Regions from separate parts of the Homo sapiens genome. Here all the other regions are linked to region 1. The links are contacts of gene promoters, found by promoter capture Hi-C in blood cells and fetal thymus (Javierre and others, 2016). All regions are on one chromosome and are shown on one strand. The core of a region is centred on a gene start or on the middle of the fragment in contact, and the rest is flanking DNA. Distances in the headings are between cores, read along the strand shown.

Region 1 (4,238 bases), core at 1,739-4,238:
GAGACGAGCTTGCACCCCCACTGCACTCCAGCCTGGGCGTCAGAGCAAGACTGTCAAAAAAAAAAAAAAAAAAAAAAAAAAAGAAGGAAAGGAATAAAGAATGGCTACTCCATAGACAGAGCAGCGGCATGGGCCGCCGGTTGCCCATTTTTATGGTTATTTCTTGATCATATGCTAAACAAAGGGTGGATTATTCATGAGTTTCCGGGAAAGGGGCGGGCAATTCCCGGAACTGAGGGTTCCTCCCCCTCTTAGACCATACAGGGTAACTTCCTGACGGTTGCCATGGCATCTGTAAAATGTAAACTGCTTTGGCATTGGTGGGAGTGTCTTTTAGCATGCTAATGTATTATAATTAAGTTACAATAAGCAGTGAGGACGACCAGAGGTCACTCTCCTGGCCATCTTGGTTTTGCTGGGTTTTTGCCGGCTTCTTTACTGCGCCCTGTTTTATCAGCAAGGTCTTTATGGCCTGTATCTTGTGCTGACCTCCTATCTCACCCTGTTGACTTAGAATGTCTTCACCTCCTGGGAATGCAGCCCAGTAGGTCTCAGCCTTATTTTACCCAGTCCCTATCCAAGATGGAGTCGCTCTGGTTCAAATGCCTCTGACAGAACCGTGTGAAATAACACAAATATTCTGGCTAAATTCCAGTGTGAGTGATTAACATTCTCCAACTTCAAATAATTTTTATTATTAGCCAACACTTGTCCATCCCCAGTAATACACACGTTGCATAAAGAGCACAGAATGAGATGGGCCTCCCTTGGCATGTTCATAGTCTGCACATACTTTCCACTGAGGGCTTCCCTTTCTTGCTCACTGCTATGCCCACAGCTTTTCAACTCCCACTATTTTCAACCCTGGGATGCTTCCTGACCCAGAGTGGCAAGTAATTCCAAAACACAAGAGATAAAATATGAACACCTGTAGAATTCCAGAGAAAGAAAGATGTAAGGTATATTTATTCATTTATTTAATTATGTATTTTAGAGTTGGGGGTCTTGCTATGTTGCTCAGGCTGGTCTGCAAACTCCTGGGTTCAAGCCATCCTCCCACCTCAGCCTCCCAAAGTGTTAGGATTACAGGCGTGAGCTATGGCGCCCGGCCTTTTAAACGTTTATTAATAGTTTTGATATCCGCGAAGTGATTGATATTTGTTCCTTTTTAACTTGGAGGCTGGGATTAACACACGTGTTCTTCATTATTGCCCACAAAGCGTTGTTGATACGCAGGAGGGGAGTGGCACTTCCGCAATTTATTCTTCCAACCTGTGCCAATGGGATCCAGCACAGGAGATGGACAGTAACCCGCGGTTGATCTGGATCTAGTCCAGTTAGTCCAGTCCCTATCCCTTCAAGTGTCCCCAGGCCCTCTTGCCTATTTTCGCCCTTTGCCCAGTGGAAGGAAAAGTTTGGGGAGAAGGAAAAAATTTAAACCCTCTTCCTAGGCGTGTGAATGTATTTCAAGTATGCTAAATACCTCAGTCTTCCAATCTAATTACAACACATAGAAAAGAGGCATTTTTAGGACATTTAAAACTTGTAGCATAATTGCGCAACTGAAGAGCGCCGCCGTGTCCCCGCCATCGGTGCGCCCTCCGACCCCCCGCGGCGCGCAAGTGCGCGGCTTAGCAGCAGGCAGCCGGGGACGGAAGGGCACGGGGAGGCCGGCGCCCTGCCCAGCACAGAACCCTGGGTCGGTATCGCTTCTCTCTGCGGGCGACTTCGGAACTGCCTGGGATTATAAACCTCGACCAATAAAGGACTCACATCTTTCTGGGTCTTCTAAAGGCAGAAAGAAATCCATTTTCTTGTCACAACAAGATTTTGTTAAGAGATGCAAAAGTAAAGGTCGAAGCCAGGGAGGCTGCGATAGTATGGGGGGAGGGGCGGCTACGATGGTGAGTGCCGCTGACCAACTACCTGGGTTCGAATCCCAGGGTTGCCATTTGGGCGGCTACTATGTGCCAGGTGATCGGAATACGGAGGTGAACTTGCTTGCCGAGGTCGCCCTTTCTTGGGGGAACTATGATTAGCTCGGTTGCCTTGGCCAAGTCTCAGTCTCGGTTTCTTCACCTGTAGGAAGTACCTGCCTCAGAATTGTTGTAAGGAGTGAGATCTTGTCTTAAGATGTAAACGGGCCGGGCGCGGTGGCTCACACCTGTAATCCCAGCATTTTGGGAGGCCGAGGCGGGCAGATCACGGTGTCAGGAGTTCGAGAACAGCCTTACATGGTGAAAGCCCGTCTCTACCAAAAATACAAAAATTAGCTGGGCGTGGTGGCGGGCGCCAGTAATCCCAGCTACGCAGGAGGCTGAGGCAGGATAATCGCTTGAACCCGGGAGACAGAGGTTGCAGTGAGCCGAGATCGCGCCACTGCACTCCAGCCTGGGAGACAGAACAACTCGTCTCAAAAAAAAAAAAAAAAAAAAAGGATGTAACCGATTAACACTTTGTTGGGCACACAGTAAAGGGCTCAGTAAGTATCCTCTCTTCTTTCACACAGTTCCAAGACAGCTCGGAAGGGAGACAGCCACGCCTAAGAGTGATTCCTTGAGCAGTTCTTTCAAAGAAGCACTGAACTCTGTAAGGACGCTTAGCTGCAGGCAGAAAGGGCAGGGGCCCTGGGAGCAAAGGTGCATAAGCCAGGAAGTTACAGGAGCGAGTCCTGCACCCAGGGCGCGGGCAGAGAACTCCGGAGGGACTTCTGGCAAGGGCTTCCCGCCCGGGTGCCCAGAGCGGCATGATTAGCATTCGCCCCGCCCCCATCTCCTCCAGGCCCGCGATTGGTCAGCGCTCCTTGGCTGCCCGCTCCTGGCGGGGCCAGAGGGCGCCGGGGGAAAGGCCGAGCCCGCGGGGCAGTGGGCGGGGACGCGCGGAGAGCTTGGCGAGGCGGCCCACCAACCGCGCCCGGGCCTGAGGGGGCGGAGCCGGGGCGGGGCTTCCCGGCGGGCATTAGAAGCAGGTGACCCGGGCGGGGCGGGAGAGGGCAGCCAGCCTGCGGCCGTGAGTCCGCTGTGGTCGCCGCCGCGCGCGGTTCCGTGCTCGCCAGAGGTGGGCGAAAGGGTGCGAGAGCGCGGGGGAGGAGCCGAGCAGGGCACGTCCCGAGAGCGTCGCCACCGCCCCCAGGAGTCCACTGGAGCGCGGAGCCCCCTGCAGGGGAGGAGGCGAGCGGCGGGCGGGACGCGGCGGCCGGCGCTCACCATGCAGTCCCGGCCTGGCCAGCGCCGGCTGCTCGCGGTGCTGTGAGGCGGCGGGGTCCCACGGCCCCCGCCTCCCGCCTTCCTCCCGCCCAGGTGCTGCCAGGCGCGCTCGCCCTCCGTCCGGCTCCCGGCCCCGGGGAGAACGCACGGCCTGCCCCTGCCCGGCTCCGTCTGGATCATGCGGGGGGCTCCCGAGGAGGAGAGGGCGAGTGACCGGCCTGCGCCGCCCCTGTTCTGGGGGCGCCCCCCACTCTGAGTCGCCCCCACCTGCTGCCATGTGCCGCTGCCACGGGTACCCAGCCTGTCGCTAAACTTTCCGGGCGCCAGCCCGGCTCTGAGTCGCGCTTCTCAGCGGAGTGACCCAGGGACGGAGGACCCAGGCTGGCTGGGGACTGTCTGCTCTTCTCGGCGGGATCCGTGGAGGTGAGAACCTTCCCTTTCTCCCTGTTCTTCTCCCGTTTCCTGTGCCCTTTTCCGGGAAGCTGAGGGTTCTGGTCTCCGGGCACTGCCTGAAGGGCCCAGCTTGGAAAGAGAGGGTGGGGGAGTCGGTAGTTTGGTTACAGGAGGCGGAGCGGGGAGGAAAGGAAAGGGGTTAACTTAAGAGATTTGGAGACAGCTCGCGGGGACCGAACTGTTGACGCCTCTCCAACAGGGAGTGGTTGCAATCTTTCTTCTCCCCCTTCTTTTTTAAAGAGTCCTTTCCCTGGAATCCGAGCCCTAACCGTCTCTCCCCAGCCCTATCCGGCGAGGAGCGGAGCGCTGCCAGCGGAGGCAGCGCCTTCCCGAAGCAGTTTATCTTTGGACGGTTTTCTTTAAAGGAAAAAGCAACCAACAGGTTGCCAGCCCCGGCGCCACACACGAGACGCCGGAGGGAGAAGCCCCGGCCCGGATTCCTCTGCCTGTGTGCGTCCCTCGCGGGCTGCTGGAGGCGAGGGGAGGGAGGGGGCGATGGCTCGGCCTGACCCATCCGCGCCGCCCTCGCTGTTGCTGCTGCTCCTAGCGCAGCTGGTGGGCCGGGCGGCCGCCGCGTCC
Region 2 (4,238 bases), core at 875-3,374, 240 kb before region 1:
CCTTATCTTGTGCTTATCTTTGAGGGTCAGAGACAGTGTTTTGTCTGCCTTTGCCAGCCTTGCTTGTTTCCTGACTAAATTGGTTAAGAGGCTGATTGGTAGCCAAGGTTGTTGTCACAGATTAAGTCCAAAAGGGAGGGAGAGGTCATAGATGCAGCCCATCACTGCTGAGTATGTCTGCCCTTTCAAACAAGAGGTGAGTCACCTTTTTGCTTAGATCTTATCACTGGTCTCATACTCTCGGGATGCCAGTTAACAAAGACCTAGGCTCACTTTTTAGCAGGTTCAAGTTCAGCAGAGACAGAAAATAAATCAACTAATTACTTCTCTCATACATTTACTCTGAATGCCCATAGAAACTGGTTTGTGAGAGTGTGCTAAGCCATAAGCCGGTTGTTGTTTTGAAGGTTAAAGTTTTAAGTATTCTCCCTTCTGCTGGTGAGTTGCAATGACCAAAAGAGTTAAAGTCAACAGGAAGTGAGGGAATTATTAATTTCCCATGACATCCTCACCACCCAGCAAAGGCCTTCTGTTGGACAGGAATGTGTCTGTGGGTCAGAAAGACTTGAACAGCTTGTGAAGAAGGCCTTTGCATTCTTGCCTTCCATGTGTGGTTGTTAGTTCACATAGTGCTCACTCTCTGGTGGAACCTTTGAGGCTGTTATTGTAGGCTGACAGCTTCATGCAAGAAGCAGCATGATTTCTTTTTTTTTTTTTCTTTTTGAGATGGAGTCTTGCTCTGTTGCCCAGGCGGGAGTGCAGTGGTGTGATCTCGGCTCACCACAACCTCCGCCTCCTGGGTTTAAGCAATTCTCCTGCCTCAGCCTCCTCAGTAACTGGGACTACAGGCACGCGCCACCATGCCTGGCTAATTTTTATATTTTTAGTAGAGATGGGGTTTCGCTATGTTGGCCAGGCTGATCTCAAACTCCTGACCTCGTGATCTGCCTGCCTCGACCTCCCAAAGTGCTGGGATTATAGGCATGAGCCACCATGCCTGGCCCACAGCATGATTGCTGGAGCAGGAATGATTGGTTTTGTTGTATGTTTTTGTTTCCTTTGTTTTTGATTTCTTTCGACTGAAGTAATCTCTGTATACCTATCATTGTCATTTAATTGTGTTCTGTTACTTAAAATTCTTTATTGTCCCTTAATTAGTAATGATTCCTTATTTATGCTTGTATAACACCTTTGTATACTTCTGTTGAAGTGCTTTTTATATTTGGTTTTGTGTCTTACTTTCCACTAGCTATTTAGCTCTTCAAGAGCAGGAGCTGTGTTTTGTGTCTAATATCTCACATAGTGTTTGGGTACTTGGTCCGTCCTCTATAAATGCTTGTTGAGGATAAATGGTTATGTGATTAGAAATCAGCTAACTTCTAATAGAAGTAGTAATTGTTTTAGAGTTTGTAAAGAACTTTCACATACTTTGTCCACATTTGTGCTTCTCTGCTTTCTCAGGTAGATGGGAGCAGGCATTGGCAGGACTTCCATTTGCAGATAAGAAGGGCACAGAGGCCCTGAGTCAGCCTGACTTGCTGGATGTCAGTTAGCTCAGAAGGCAGTGTGGGGACATGACCCTTTCCTGGTGTCATAAATTTATGTTCTTCCCATTGCCACACTTCTCTCACACTGAACAAACTCAATACTTAGTCTGAGTGGCTGAGGGGTTGGATTCAGCCTACTCACTCCTTGTTTATGGTCCTTCTACTAACATCAGGGCCCCTGTATGATTTAAGGTGATTTAAAAGGTAATTGAACTTGGGTGGCCCAAAGTACTCAGTAATTAGACAAGGATTTGAGGAACTTCGTTTTCTTTTCTTTGGGAACTACAATTGACAATAAATGAATCATGGGTTCTCTTTCATCATCTTTAAAATAGTCCCATTACTTTACTCACCTCTCTTTTTTGAGGTTACTACAAGTATTTATTAAGAAGTTTATCAGGCAGGCGGATCATGAGCTCAGGAGATGGAAACCATCCTGGCTAACACGGTGAAACCCCGTCTCTACTAAAAAATACAAAAAAATTAGCCGGGCGTGGTGGCGGGCACCTGTAGTCCCAGCTACTCGGGAGGCTGAGGCAGGAGAATGGTGTGAACCCGGGAGGCAGAGTTTGCAGTGAGCTGAGATCGTGCCACTGGACTCCAGCCTGGGCGACAGAGCGAGACTCCGTCTCAAAAACAATAAATAAATAAAATAAAGAAGTTTATCAGAGTTCGAGACCAGCCTGGCCAATATGATGAAACCCCATCTCTACTAAAAATACAAAAGATTAGCCAGGCCTGGTGGCGGACACCTGTAATCCCAGTTACTCAGGAGGCTGAGCAGGAGAGTCACTTGAACCTAGGAGGCAGAGGTTGCCGTGAGCCGAGATCACACCATTGCACTCTAGCCTGGGCAACAAGAGTGAAGCTCCGTCTCAAAAAAAAAAAAAAAAAAAAAAAAAAAAAGTTTATCAGAGCACTTAAAAATTTTTTTTATTCCATAGGTTTGTGGGGAACAGGAGGTATTTAGTTACTAAGTTCTTTAGTGGTGACTTGTGAGATTTTGGTGCAACCATCCCCCAGGCAGTATACACTGAACCCGATTTGTAGTCTTTTATTCCTCACCCCCTCCCCACCCTGTCCCCCTAAGTCCCCAAAGTCTATTTTCTCATTCTTATGCCTTTGAATCCTCATAGCTTAGCTCCCATTTGTGAGTGAGAACATACGATGTTTGGTTTTTCATTCCTGAGTTACTTCACTTAGAATAGTAGTCTCCAATCCCATCCAGGTTGCTGTAAATGCCATTAATTGATTCCTTTTTATGGCTGAGTAGTAGTGCATCATATATATCTATATGATGTATAGATATATATATCTCACAGTTTCTTTCTATTCGTTGATTGATGAGCATTTGGGTTGGTTCCACATTTTCGCAGCTGCAAATTGTGCTACGATAAACATGCATGTGCAAGTGTCTTTTTCGTATAATGACTTCTTTTCCTTTGGGTAGATACCTAGTAGTGGGATTGCTGGGTCAAATGGTAGTTCTACTTTTAGTTCTTAAAGGAATCGCCACACTATTTTCCATGGTGGCTGTACTATCTTACATTCCCACCAGCAGTGTAGAAGTGTTCCCTTTTCACCACATCCACGCCAACATCTATTTTGTTTTTTTTTTTTTTTTTTTGATTATGGCCATTCTTGCAGGAGTAAGGTGGTATCACATTGTGGTTTTGGTTTGCATTTCCCTGATCATTAGTGATGTTGAGCATTTTTTCATATATGTATTGGCCATTTGTTATCAAGCACTTTAAACTTTATTCTAAACCATGCATGTGAAAAATGATTATTTTCTGTAAAAACCAAGTGATTTTTTCCTGAGATTAACTCAGTTTTAGTTTTGTGAGATAATTAGATAAACACAGTCCTGTATTGAATTTAGAAACACAGCCTCTATTACTCAGGCTCAAGTAGAAGATTCTAAATAGTTATATAAACTGATGACATCTTTAAGTCTACTTCCCCAGCCCTTTCTGGGTATCTTGCATATTTGGTCTCACTGTACTTCCTTGTTACATTCACTGTTGCAGTCAGCCACACTAGCTGGCTTGGCCCTGATGGAACCTACTTGCACCTCACCTGTGACTCCTGTTGCAGTTGGAGGCTGATAAAGTTTTTATCATGGAAGTTTTTGCCTTCTTCCTCTCAGTCCCAAGATAAAGCTAATTCAAGTGGTTCTTTTGTTTGTTTTCTAGTCAGTGTTCTCTGCCATGGAGGCAAAGGGAGATGGAAAACATCAAGTCTGCATTTTTAGACATTTCGTAACTGAAGTTTGTGTCTTCCTGCTTTGTTTCTAAGAGCAAGACATATTGGATCTCTGGTGGTTTTATGAAAATGGGCCATTTTGGTTTTCCAATTTCACATAAAGGTGCAGTAACACTGCTGCCTTCAGTCGCAAAGCAATCTGAGATTTAAAGTGCCATGCTTATATTTAGTTAGGTTTCTGAGGCAGCAAATGTCTCAATGATTTTGCAGGTGGCAAACAATAAACATGTGCAGAGATGTACTGAAAAATGCTTTAAATGGATTGTTGGGACTACTTCAAAGGGAACATCTCATTACTGGTGTTGTAAAGAGCTTGAGCTCTAAGTCATTGGAAAATGAACCCAGCCAAGTTGCTGATAGTGTAGTGGTTCACAGGACAATTCCTAAGTAATGCATAGGTGCTTTGGTTTCTATAAAAGGTCTGAG
Region 3 (4,238 bases), core at 1,132-3,631, 220 kb before region 1:
ACAAAATCAAGTGTAAACTTTATAAAGCATCCAGGTATCTTCCCAACCTTATCACCCATACCTTCTTGCTTTTGAACCTTTTTGCCATTTTTGAAAGTGCCATGTGCTTTCAAGCTCCTGGGCCTTTGCTGTCTCTTCATCCCAGAATACTTTCCCTGCCCTTTTCACTTTCCAAAAATCCTCCATTATTTTTCAAGGGCCAATTCAAATCCCACATCCTCCCTGGGACCTTTCCAGATTTTTCTCAATTAAAATTCTTTTTTTTTTCTTCCCTTTCACTTTATGTTCCCATGGCACATTTTACTCTGCTGTGCACGATAGATAATTGCTTGTCCATCCATCTCCCACACCAGATTGGAAGTCCTTTGAAGATACCAACTGTATTGTAGAAAACTGTACTGTACCAAGCATGAACACATGGAAGGTTGAATTCTGTGTATTGGTGCTTAAAAATCAGGACAGAATAGTGATGTTTTGTTTTTTATTCAGAATGGAAGGGGCTACTCTTTCCTTTCTCCTTAGTTACAGCTTGATTCAAGTTGAATGAAGTTTGTTATTATTAATACTGTCAGTAAGAGCTATCACTTAATGAGCGATAATTTTATGCCCAGCTCTGTGCTAAGAAGTGTTCATTATCTTAGTTAATACTCACAACAGTTTAACATAATAGATGATATTATCCTGATTCTACAAATGAGGAAACTGAGGCTTAGAGAAGATGACCTCATCCAAGCCTATGCAGCTAGTATGTGGCAGGGCTAGGATTCTAAGCCAAGTCTAACTCCAAGACTGCACATAACCACTGTGTTAAACCGCTTCTCCAGCCTGAGGAAGGCTAGGACTCATTCCCTCCACCACAAATAAAACACAGTGTGATCTAGATTTAAAGTCTGGAGGTTGGAGTTCCACTCTCAACTTGCCCACTTTGTGGTATAACCTTGGCCAAGTCATTTTGCTTCCTGGAACCTCTTTCCAAATGTGTTCAGTCAGTCAGAATGCTTTCAGAAGCAAGTAACAAAATACTCAACCAAAAGTGGCACAAATAGTAAGGCCAAAATATCACTGTAATTTTTCTTTTATCTGACAGATAACTATTGAGCACTTAGTGAATGTCGAGGACTTATGCAATAAACACTTCACAGGATACCCAGGGGTAGGTGGTCTTGGGGTCATCCAGGACCTACAGGCTTTCCATCTTTTTGCTTTGTTTTCCTTGGTATATTGGTGATTTCTCTTCTCTCCCATCATTGGTACAAAGTGGCTACAGCTGCCCCAAGGATCATTTTAAAAAACATTTTCCTAACTTCCCAAATGTGTTAGGATCATTTTCTTAAATACCAACAGTAAAAACCAGGAAGAGAGAGAGCAGGGCATCTCTTCTGGGTCTTTTTTTCCAGAGGCTCCCAATAGCACCCGCTCCTTGGCCAGAACTGGGTCACATGTCCACCCCTAAGGCAATCTCTGGCAAAGGAAAATAGGATTACTGTGATTGGATTAAACAAATTATTATTCTTTTTACAGGGCAGGGGAGAGGCCATCTTTCCTGAGCATATTGCCCCCATACCTGAACAAAATTAGGGTTCTGTTAATGAAGGCAGCTGATAGGTTTTGCCTTACATGTGGATGTGCTAGTGGGATTTCTAGGATCTCTTCCAGCTCTAAGTCTCTATAATTCTGTAGGCTGCATCAAGAAATTGTAATGGAATGCCATTTATGCCTAAAATCCAGCAGCCTAAGTATGGGAGGGTCTTTTATATTTAATTCCTATAGATTAGATATATAGAGCCAAAAGCTCACCATGGCAAAGAATAAGCATGGTTTGAAAGGTGATGTTTGGAATTGTTTCCTGGGTCCAAAACCTCAACAGAGGCTAAGGCTTGCCCTCATCACAGAAGACAGAAAATCTCTGCTTTTAAAAAGTTGGATCTGTGATCTCCTAGTCAGGTTCACACTTGAGAAAAATTGGCCAGGAATGTATTGACTTATGCTCTATCACTGTTGCCCATAGCAAAGAACTGGATGGAAGAGATCCCTAAACTGGTATATCTAGTTAATGTTAATATGTAGCCAGATATGTTACAGGTCTGTTTCCACTAGAGCTGACATAGGTAATCTTTTTCCTAGGTTTATGAAGGGAAAATGAATGGAATATCCTCTTTTTACCCAAAAAGAAAGTCTCCAAAGTAGCCATAGAAAAGACTAGTTCATTTCTACCAGAACAAATTTGTTAATAAAAATATCTGTGGAATACCATCTGTGTACTCCACTGGCCAACACTGTACGAGGGCCTGTGGAGCATATTAAATATGTGCAAGACACAGTCCAGCTTTGATTCCTGTAGTATCACTCTCTTCATGTTCTTTGCTATGGACATGTGTGGCAGTGTCATGATTAGTGTGCCCCGATGTGCCTGTAATGAGGAGAACAAAGACCTAAAATTAGTTCATTTTTTCCGTTTGTTTCTGGCTTGAACATAGTCGAGTACTATAATATGAAACAAATTGACTTGGAAAACTGTATTTTATTAACCAGGAATGCAAAGAAAAGAGTGATGATTGTGACTCAGAATGCCAGAGGAGTCTTCATTGAGGAAAGGCTATTTCAGCTGAGCTTTGAGGATTGAGCACAAAGTCAAGGTGGAAAGAACACAGCGTATGTATGAGATGGTCAGGAGGCTAACCTAGAACAGGGGTACATTTTGGAGTAGTGAGCTGAGACTTTGGAGGACCTTCAAAGCCATATGAATAGACTTACTGTGATATATTTGGCAAGAAGCAACCACACATGTCTTGAGACTCAAGATTAAAAGGGTATTTAATAAGAAATATGGAAGTTGGTGGGGTGAAAGTGGTGATAGGGTAGCAGGGACCCTCCTTTTCAGTGGCTTTATGTGTCCATGTAAAGGGACGTCAGCTGGAATAGCACTCTTGGCCTCCGTCCATCCCTTTGCACACCCCACCCATGAGAAGGAGGAGTGACTTATTGGCAAGTTTAGGAGAGGAACCAGGTAATTCAGCTGCTGTCCTAAGAGCACTAATTCTGGTCCGCTCCCCCAGATCTGCTCCTCCATGCCATCAGCCCTTCATGGGCAGTTTCCCAGGAGGGGAGGCCTCTGGCTATCCAGTGATGCTTGTGACTCAGAGGTAAGTCTCTGAAATCCTGGGGTTCAATTTGCTGCTACGCAACTAAGTTGCATCCTCCAACTGTCTGATGTTTTGATCCCCATGTATCTGACCACCCTCTGTCTATCTCAATTGGTTCAAAAGTTGGGTGAGGAAAAGGAAGGCTCTTCAGTGGGTCTCCTCAGGCCCCAACAGTGCATGGAATGATTGGTAGGTGGAAAGAACTAAGGGATGGAAACCAATCAGAAGGTCTGCCAGGCGTCATGATGTGTGATGAGGACTCAGATTAGTGTTGAGGACTCAGATTAGTGTGATAGTGGCAATAAAGAGAAAGTGGGACTTGTGAAAAGGAAAAGAAAGGCTGTAATTGGGGATAGATGGAGGATAATGGATGAAGGAAAGGGAAAATCTAAGTGAAGGCCCACCATCTGGAATGCTCTTTACCCCTTCCTGCCGTCTCTGAATATCAATTCTATCCTGTCTTCAAAGTCTACCTCAGATACCACCTCCTTCTCAAGACTTTTAAGAACTTCCCAGGCAAAAGCCCTCTCTTTCTTCTCTTGCGTGTTAGAAGGCTCTGAGTACTTTATGCTGCATATTGCAGATACTTTGGGGCCCATCTTTTCTCCACTATGGGCTATAAACTCTGTTGACACGATCTGTGTCTGATTGGTTTGGTATCTCCACAGATTGTAGCAAAGTCCTTTGCTGATACAGTCAACAATATTTATGGAGCTAGCCTCTGGTATTCAGGAAGGAGAGAGATATCAAGGTTCCTGTTCTCAGGAGGAGAGAGTTCTTTGAAGGAAATAAAGCAAGAGGTGTGATGGAGAACGATTGAGGGGCTCTTTAACCTGAGTGTTTAAGGGATGGCTTCACTGAGGACAGCACTTTTGAGGTGAAAAATTGAGAGAGGCAAATAAGGTATTGGAGCTGGGGAGAGAAGCCCCAGACAGAGAACATGGCAACTCAGAGGCCTCGGAGCTAGAATGTGCTTGGCTTGTTCAAGGAACATAAGAGAGGATTGTGGCTGGAGCGAGACAAGGGTTATAAGATGATATGAGATGAGGCCAGAGCAATAGCCAGAGGCCAGGTCATGTGGACCAGGAAGAAGAG
Region 4 (4,238 bases), core at 779-3,278, 200 kb before region 1:
GAGATTGCACCACTGCACTCCAGCCTGGTTGACAGAGTGAGACTCCATCTCAAAAAAAAAAAAAAGAAGCTCTACTAGTTTATATATATGTATCTGTAGGTATGAAAGACCTGTGTTAAGTCACCCAGATACTTTTGGAAAATGGTTTTGAAATGATGAGATACTAGTTTTAGCAGTTTTTTAAAAAAATAGAAATTACTGACATTTCAGTGTCTTATACTAGTACATATATTTTTAAGTTCAGACATTCAATAATAATTTACTAAGTGCTTACTCTGGACATCCTGGAATTATGGTACACTTCCGTGGCTTTAGATTACAGACGTGGTCAGCAAATCTGTTGTGTTATTGGAGTAAGGAAGAACAGCTCAGCTTAGTTCTCAAGATGTGGAGATTGGAGTAGCTGAATCAAGAAACTTTCTAGTAAAAGAGGGAAGAAAAGCCTCAGGTATTTCACAAGAGGTATTGCCTAATTCACCTCCCTCTCAGAAGTGTGCCTTCTGATGGAGTGTGCACTGCCCATGCTCTGCACTGCATTCGTAGCATTCCTGACACTCAAGAGGAAGGAGAAATGTAGGTAAGAAGGTGCCATTCAGCAAGCTCATTCGCATCCGGCAGCTGGAGAAATGAAATCAGGAAAAAAAGAAAAGTGAGCAAAAGAAGGAGAAGGAAGCTGAGTAGAAAAGAACAGGAAACGTATTATTATAATATAATGGGCAGGAATAGAAATTTCTGGCAGCTGCCTTAGTTAGGTTCCATATGATAGGATGCTTCCCTTTGCTGTCTAAATTTTGTGCTCACGAAATTTGGCTTGTGGAGGATAGGTTGGGTAAGGGTAGTAGTACGGAATCAGGGGAGGAAGGCAGTCTAAAATTTATTTGCACTGCTTGACTTTTAACTTTGTGCTTTGGTTCGGAGTTTTAACGAACGGGGCAGAGAGAGACAGGTTTCTAATTTGGGACAGGGAGAAGTCAGTCTTATTTTGTATAGTGTGGCACATTCCAAAAAAAAAGAAAAGAAAGAAAAGCTGTTCCATTTATATGCCCTTTCTTCCCTCAGAAAGTGCTGCATTCAGTTGCTTTGTGATACTTGTGGTTTACCAGGTTGTTTTTCATACCAGCACTTGAACTCTGGTTTTCTTTCTTTTTTTTCTTTTTTTTTGAGATGGAGTTTCGCTCTCGTTGCCCAGGTTGGAGTGCAATGGCATGATCTCGGCTCACTGCAACCTCCGCCTCCTGGGTTCAAGTGATTCTCCTGCCTCAGCCTCCTGAGTAGCTGGGATTACAGGCATGCGCCACCACGCCTGGCTAATTTTGTACTTTTAGTAGAGATGAGGGTTTCTCCATGTTGGTCAGGCTGGTCTCAAACTCCCGACCTCAGGTGATCCGCTTGCCTCAGCCTCCCAAAGTGCTGGGATTACAGGCGTAAGCCACCGCCTGTGCCAGGCTGAACTCTGGTTTTCTAGGTAAGAATACTTTATTTCCTGATCTCCTGTAGGGGGCAGAGTCTCAAAAGAAAAAGGCCAAAACCTGTTAAGCAAACTTCTGAATGTTTTTTAAATTACCTGGGAGACTGTTCATTATATCAGAGATTATTATAGCAGATGGAACGTTAAAAATTGATCTGTGTTTCTCACAAACACAGTTAATCTAAACCAGCTGCTTCTTCCTTTTGTACCTATGTCTTCTAACTTTGCATCCTCATAAAAACACACCTTCAGTGAAAAAGCTGGTGGCATAGCATGTTGATCTTCCAAAATGCCAAAAACTTCAGCACATTGTTTTTGATGAGTTTTGGCTTTACGTATTATTTTAAGGAGAGGCTAATTCACTGTATTTCATGGTTTTAGTGTGCCCCTTTATAAGTTTTTATGTCTACTTAGTTCTTCCCCCTTTAAATAGTTTGGATGAATAAACTTTAGAAGTGGAAGATTGTATGGAGTAGCTCTTTGTTATGATGTCATTTACTTGCTATTCAGGGGAGCCACAAATGTTGGCTTTTAAATCTACAAAATAGTGCAATTGGCCTTATTTCATTAAATTATTTCTGTAAGTGAAGAATTTTCTATATCCTTCTTTAAAATTTAAACAGCCCTGCAGAAAAAAATGGACCATGGTTATGCAAAAATGCCTGAGGTTATGGTTTTAAAAATATATGCTGATACATAACGGTATATTTCTTAAATGTGTACTTGATTTTTGATAGTTGTATCTGATTATGTGTGACTGTTCCGTGGCTTCTTCTGCAGCTCCAGGGTTGCACTGAGCTTAGGAAGCCCCAGCCATAGTGGTCTTCTTTTTTTTTTTTTTTTTTTGAGACGGAGTCTCGCCCTGTTGCCCAGGCTGGAGTGCAGTGTTATGATCTCGGCTCACTGCAACCTCCGCCTCCTGGGTTCAAGTGATTCTCTTGCCTCATCCTTCCTTGTAGCTGGGATTACAGGCGTGTGCCACCAGGCCCGGCTAATTTTTGTATTTTTAGTAGAGACGGGGTTTTGCCATGTTGGTCAAGCTGGTCTCGAACTCCTGACCTCATGATCCACCGCCCCCCCGCCCCCCGGCCTCCCAAAGTGCTGGGATGACAGGCGTAAGCCACTGTGCCCAGCCTTATAGTGGTCTTCTTGCTGTTCCTGGAACCTACTATTATCATGCCTACCTCTAGGACCCTTACACTTGCTAGTTCTACTTCTTGAAATTTGAAAACTTAGTTGTTTCATTCATTCTGTCATTTATTGTGTGCCCAGAAACTTGGATGCACCTAGATGGGTCAGTGCTGGAGGAAAGCAGACATGGTCCTTGCCTTCATGAAATTTGCAGTCCACTAGGGAAGACATGAATCAAATAATCACATCAGTGAATGTCAAAAGGCAGCTGTGACAATTGCTACAGATGTGACGCCCATGCATTGGGTTAGAGAACTCTCAGAGATGGTGCCAGGTAGAACTATGTGAAATTGCAGATTTTTCAGTCATTTTTGACCTATAAAAGTAAAGACAGTTCAGATTACATTTTATGTTTGACCCTGAAGTCACAGAAGGTTCTTGAGCAGAGAAGCACATGATGGGAATGGTATGTAGGAACAGTTAATTTGGTGGTACAGCTTTTCGGGGACACCTGTAGCAGCAAATGAGGCATGCTTCTTCGGTGAAATTACTGGTTGAGGTTTAAAATTGTGTTTGGCAATGGGGAATCTGTGGTGCTATAGTATTAATGCTAAAACAAATGACTATACAGCTTATTAAAATATTTATGAAGTGTGTACCTGTATGTGATTCTATATTAGGTTATTCACAAAATGCCATATAAATTAGATTAAGGCAATAGCTCTTTTTTTTTTTTTAGTTAAAAAAAGTTTTAATTGACACAATATACATCTTTATGGGGTACATAGTGATATTGCAATACATATGTATAGTGATCAGATCAGGGTAATTAGCATATCCATTATCTCAAACATTTATCATTTCTTTGTGTTGGGAACATTCAGTATCTCCCTTCTAGGTATTTGAAACTACGTATTATTGTTAACTATAGTCATCCTATAGTGCTATTGAACACTAGAACTTATTCCTCCTATCTAAGCAGCTCTGTTTTCTTTAGGAATTTGACATTTGTACCTACCTATTTGCACTTAATAGATACATAGTTTTCTTGGCACTAGCACACACAGATATTTTTCCTATAATTTCCTAGCAATCAAGAAACCTTGCAATTGAGTACTATAATAAAAGGGCCCAAGGACTTGTTTCTGAGTGTGACAAGAGATGCAAAGCTCACCTTTGGAAGTGTTCCTTGTATGACTGTTTTGTAATCTGGAGATGAAATTGGATGGCCCACTGTAGGGCAGTGTTCCCAATTCTGAACTGAATTTGAACATGTTAACAGCAAAGACAGCAAGAAAAACAGTGAGCCTGGGGGATCCCCTACACCATTTTCACTGTGTCAGATTTTATGGTTTTACTCCTTGGCTGCTGTTTAACCTCTTGGGACTGCTGTTGGTAATTACATCTCTCTGGCATTAAGAGCTTTTTTGCTTTTCTTTTTTTCCCTCCAACCCTTGGGAGGGGTAAACCCAAGAGGTGGTGGGGAGAAGTTTTGCTGTGAATTCTTCAGCCATTTAGTGCAAATTCCTGTAATTACCGGCATTGTGTCTTCTCTGAATGGCACATAATACAGCAGAAGCCATTCCTAATTGAGACCTTACAGGAGGTACAAATCCCCTCTTTGTTCAGCCTGACAAAT
Region 5 (4,238 bases), core at 1,089-3,588, 190 kb before region 1:
TGAACTCCTGATCTAATGATCCACCCGCCTCGGCCTCCCAAAGTGCTGGGATTACAGGCGTGAGCCACCGCGCCCAGCCACCACATAATGTTTTATAATCTAAGACCTCTGCATCTTACGTAAATTTAAGTGAAAGTAGTAGGTTATAAAAATAGGACCTTCACCAACCATCATTTGATATCAAGTATATCAAATGCTTTCAGTAGCAACTAACAGAATATACAATTCAAACTGATTTTTACAATAAGGGGGATTATTCTTAATCACCTGAGCTTTAAGCATCAGTAGATCTGGTAGCTCAAATTTTTTGAACTATGTTTTTTGGATTAAATGCTTCAAATAGCATTTTCTCCCCCAAACCACCTGCTCCTTCTAATTGATGGATTTCTCACATGAGTCACAGGCTTGAAACATCATGAGCATCTTTAACAGTCCCTTTGCATGCCCCCAACGTCTGTCAGTTGCCAGATCATCTGCATTTTGTCCCCATGCTATCTCCTTCTCTTTCTTTCTTCCTGTTTCCAAGACCACCACCTAATCAAGTCAAACTGGTGCAGTAACTTATCAACTAGTTCCCTCCCCTTCCAGCTTTTCTTGCTAATTAATCTTTTCAAAGCGTACATTGCAGCTGGGCATGGTAGCTCATGCCTGTAATTCCAGCACTTTGGGAGGCCAGGGCGGGAGGATAGCTTAAGGAAAGGAGTTCAACACCAGCCTTGCACAACATAGCAAGACCCCTGGGTCTCTGCAAAAAAAAAAAAAAAAAAAAAAAAAAAATTTTAATCAGCCAGGTGTGGTGGCATGCACCTGTAACCTTTGATACCCAGGAGGCTGAGGTGGGAGGATCACTTGAGCCCAGGGGGTTGAGGCTGCAATGAGCCATGATTGTACTACTGTACTCCAGGCTGGGTGACAGAGTAAAACCTTGTCTCCAAAATTTAAAAAAAAAAATTTTTTTTTTAAGTTTACTTTGCTACTCTGCTTCAAACTCTGGTTGTTCCTATATCTTTTTTTATTTTTTTTGAGATGGAGTCTCATACCGTTGCCCAAGCTGGAGTGCAATGGTTCAATCTTGGCTCACTGCAACCTCCGCCTCCTGGGTTCAGGTGATTCTCCTGCCTCAGCCTCCCAAGCAGCTGGGACTACAGGCACCCACCACCACGCCCGGCTAATTTTTTTTTGTGTGTATTTGTAGTATAGATGGGGTTTCACCATGTTGGCCAGGCTGGTCTCAAACTCCTGACCTCGTGATCTGCCTGCCTTAGCCTCCCAAAGTGCTATATCTTATTAATTAGGACTTCTCACTCTGAGCACTCAGGATTCTTATGTTCTAGCTTCACTTTATCATTCCAAGCTCTTTTCTTCATACTCCTCTATTTACAATGAGCCTCAGACAACTAGAATATCCAGTGTTTCCAAAGGTGCTTCCATTTTTCTGACTTGAGCCTTTATGAATGAACGTTCCTTTTCCAAAATCTCTTCTCTTCTTCAAGACCCAGCTCAAATGCCCCTGTGTCGACACAGCCTTCCTCGATCTCCACAATAGTGATTGCTTCCTCCTTTCCTCATCTCTTATCTTCTGCTGTTTACTTTATAGATTTGTATTCTTCTTCCCCTCACCCTTCATCTTCAGAGGTGATGCTAATGCCTGTGATGTCCCAGGCTATATTCATTGATGAGCTAAATTATGTTCTTTTATGTAAATTGATTCATAGTTTTTGTCCTTGTTTTGTCATCTGCAGGGGACAGTTTTTCTAATGTCTTACAAAAGGAGATAACTACCTGAAAATGCCACATTGCCACTTTTATTAGGCTCTGCCTTTTAAGCAGCTGTACAACAGTGGACAGAATTACTTTTTCATCTTCTGCCTCAGTTTCTTATTCTGTAAAATGGGCATAATACCTACCTCATAGAATTGGTATGAGGATTAAATGAACAGAGACATACACATGTATTTACATATGTTCGTTTGTGTGTATGTAAAGTAGTTATGACAGTGCCTGGCTTATAGTAAGCCTGTCTTACATAAGGTGTTTGCTTATAATGTGTTTATCCATTTGCTTAGTTCTTATTTATTTATTTTTATTTTTAAATTGCTTACCATTTTCTTGAAAGACTTTGGGGAAAGAACATAGAAGTAAATGAGAAAGTCTAGTCATAGACTGTTAGGAAAAAAACAGGATGAAAAAAATACTAAGTTTAGACTGATTTCAATATACTAGAAGCTGAATTTGTAAGATTTTATTATTAATATTAAACTTATCTTACACCAATAAAAGCACTATTGAAGCATCTTATCCTAAGAAAAATTAAAAGTAACTCAACAACTCAAGTCATGTCTTCGGAAGTGAAAATCTGTATTACAGATCATTATACTTACAACTTTTGGGGTAGATATTTCATAGAAAGCAGTCAGATTCTCTAAAATGGTGTACATATTTACTTACGTGCTTTAGCAAAAATCAAGATTTATTGCCTTTCAAGATAAATTTTGACTAAATATTGACTTTAGGTTCTCAATCATTGTTTACCTGAAAGACCAATAAATCTTGACACTTCTCAACTTGAGTTGGAATCTACTTGGTATTTATTAATTTATTTCACACGATTTATAATCTTAATAACAACATTCCATGAGATTAAATAAACATTGTAGAGTTTAGCAAGTTTATATTTTCAGTCAGCAGTAATTACTTGACATGTGATTTTCACTTCATTTCTTATTTAAATATAGTACCTCTAGCACTGTTAACACAACGTAGGTCCTACATGTCAAAGCTGACTTAGCTATTTAAATATTCAGAGGGGGAAAACCCAAATAACTCTTAATAGCTTATAGAATTGCTTTACATTTTAAACCAATTAGTATTCAGATTGGAGTTTCTAATCTGAATTGATTTTATTTTTTTGGTTGCCTTAGTTCTGCAAGTATAATCTACTAATACATGATTATACGTCATAGATGGCCTCTGTCTTGGACAGTTTATGTCTGTTGGTTTTGATCTCTGTTTCATGCATCTGTCTGTTCTTGTCTCTCTCTCTAGATATAATGTGTATTGAACATTCACTGTGTCTCAGCACAGTACTAATACTTTACAAACATAATATTTGCCATATTGTTGTGTTGACAGGGTTTTTAGAGACAGGGTCTCGTTCTGTCACTTAGGTTGGTGTGCAGTGGTACAATAATAGCTCATTGAACCCTCGAACTCCTGGGCTCAAGGTATTCTCCTGCCTCAGCCTCCAAAGTAGCTGGGATTGCAGGTGCAGACCACCACACCTGGCTAATTTTTTAGAAATTTTTGGAAAAAATGGGGCCTCACTCTATTGCCCAAGCTGGAGTGCCATGGTGCGATCATAGCTCTCTATAACCTCGAACTCCTGGCCACAAGCAATCCTCCCATCTTGGTCTCCAAAAGTACTGGGATTACAGGTGTGAGCCACCAGTGCCTGGCTGGAAATTCTTTGGTTAGGTACATTCAGTGTGTCTAGGAGGAGTTACTTACTTCTATGAGATTCTTAAGGACAGAGCTGTCCTAGCTATAGCAGTAGTCCATTCTACAAGTGCCAGCTGAAGTTAACCTAAATGTGTGTCACCCATGGTAGGAACATGGTTTTTAACATGTCAGCTCTCTGTGCAGTGGAACTTTATTCTTTTTTTTTTTTTTTTGTAGACAGAGTCTTGCTTTGTGGCCCAGGCTGGAGTACAGTGGCACAATCTCAGCTCACTGCAGCCTCTGCCTCCCAGGTTCCAGCAATTCTCCTGCCCCAGGAAAAGCAGGGATTACAGGCATGTAGCTGGGATTACAGGCATGTGCCATCACACCCAGCTAATTTTTGTGTTTTTAGTAGGGGTTTCACCATGCTGTTTTTAGTAGAGGTTTCACCATGTTGGCTAGGCTGGTCTCAAACTCCTGACCCCAAGAGATCTGTCCACCTCAGCCTCCCAAAGGATTATAGGCATGAGCCACCACACCCGGCTTGTGCAGCGGAAATTTATGAGTCAGTTTCAGCCAACAAGGAATGACAATTTCTCATATATAATCTCTCACTGCTATAAAATTTGTAGATGAACATAAAACGAAGCCCATCAGAAAAAAAAAATTCTGATGAACAGAAATGAATTTTTGTGTAGCTTTGGAAACAACCATCAGTACATTTCAGGATTGTATTTGAGCATGTGTATTTCCTCCCAACTGTGAAGTTTTCAACTCCTGGGAAGAGAATTCACTATGAA

Evidence for each region. The method cuts DNA at HindIII sites, captures the fragments that hold promoters and counts their contacts. A CHiCAGO score of 5 or more calls a contact.
Region 2: a contact is called between a fragment that was not itself captured here and the fragment with the promoter of FZD5 in region 1, in 7 of 17 cell types (M0 macrophages, M2 macrophages, megakaryocytes and 4 more). The highest score is 10.5, in M0 macrophages.
Region 3: a contact is called between a fragment that was not itself captured here and the fragment with the promoter of FZD5 in region 1, in 6 of 17 cell types (megakaryocytes, endothelial precursors, M0 macrophages and 3 more). The highest score is 8.0, in megakaryocytes.
Region 4: a contact is called between a fragment that was not itself captured here and the fragment with the promoter of FZD5 in region 1, in 6 of 17 cell types (megakaryocytes, endothelial precursors, M0 macrophages and 3 more). The highest score is 17.8, in megakaryocytes.
Region 5: a fragment that was not itself captured here is called in contact with the fragment with the promoter of FZD5 in region 1 in 5 of 17 cell types (megakaryocytes, M2 macrophages, M0 macrophages and 2 more); the score reaches 10.8 in megakaryocytes.

The regions. Positions count from the first base shown.
Region 1 is chr2:207,768,656-207,772,893 of GRCh38, reverse strand. It overlaps FZD5 (frizzled class receptor 5), which reads left to right and starts at 2,988. Exons shown (of 2, transcript NM_003468.4): 1 at 2,988-3,629; 2 at 3,900-4,238. The coding sequence starts at 4,155. RefSeq lists silencers at 156-631, 2,688-3,367, 3,708-3,767, 4,178-4,237 and enhancers at 1,103-1,923, 2,088-2,137. The HindIII fragment of the contact is 9,976 bases long and covers 1-4,238 here.
Region 2 is chr2:208,010,001-208,014,238 of GRCh38, reverse strand. All of the region lies in intron 1 of PLEKHM3 (pleckstrin homology domain containing M3), which reads left to right. Among named protein-coding and RNA genes, the nearest start is that of PLEKHM3, 13 kb to the left of the region's middle. The HindIII fragment of the contact is 4,421 bases long and covers 1-4,238 here.
Region 3 is chr2:207,988,759-207,992,996 of GRCh38, reverse strand. The region is part of intron 2 of PLEKHM3 (pleckstrin homology domain containing M3); the gene reads left to right. Among named protein-coding and RNA genes, the nearest start is that of PLEKHM3, 35 kb to the left of the region's middle. The HindIII fragment of the contact is 8,087 bases long and covers 1-4,238 here.
Region 4 is chr2:207,970,663-207,974,900 of GRCh38, reverse strand. All of the region lies in intron 3 of PLEKHM3 (pleckstrin homology domain containing M3), which reads left to right. Among named protein-coding and RNA genes, the nearest start is that of PLEKHM3, 53 kb to the left of the region's middle. RefSeq lists an enhancer at 3,843-4,238. The HindIII fragment of the contact is 5,414 bases long and covers 1-4,238 here.
Region 5 is chr2:207,953,258-207,957,495 of GRCh38, reverse strand. The region is part of intron 3 of PLEKHM3 (pleckstrin homology domain containing M3); the gene reads left to right. Among named protein-coding and RNA genes, the nearest start is that of PLEKHM3, 70 kb to the left of the region's middle. The HindIII fragment of the contact is 6,249 bases long and covers 1-4,238 here.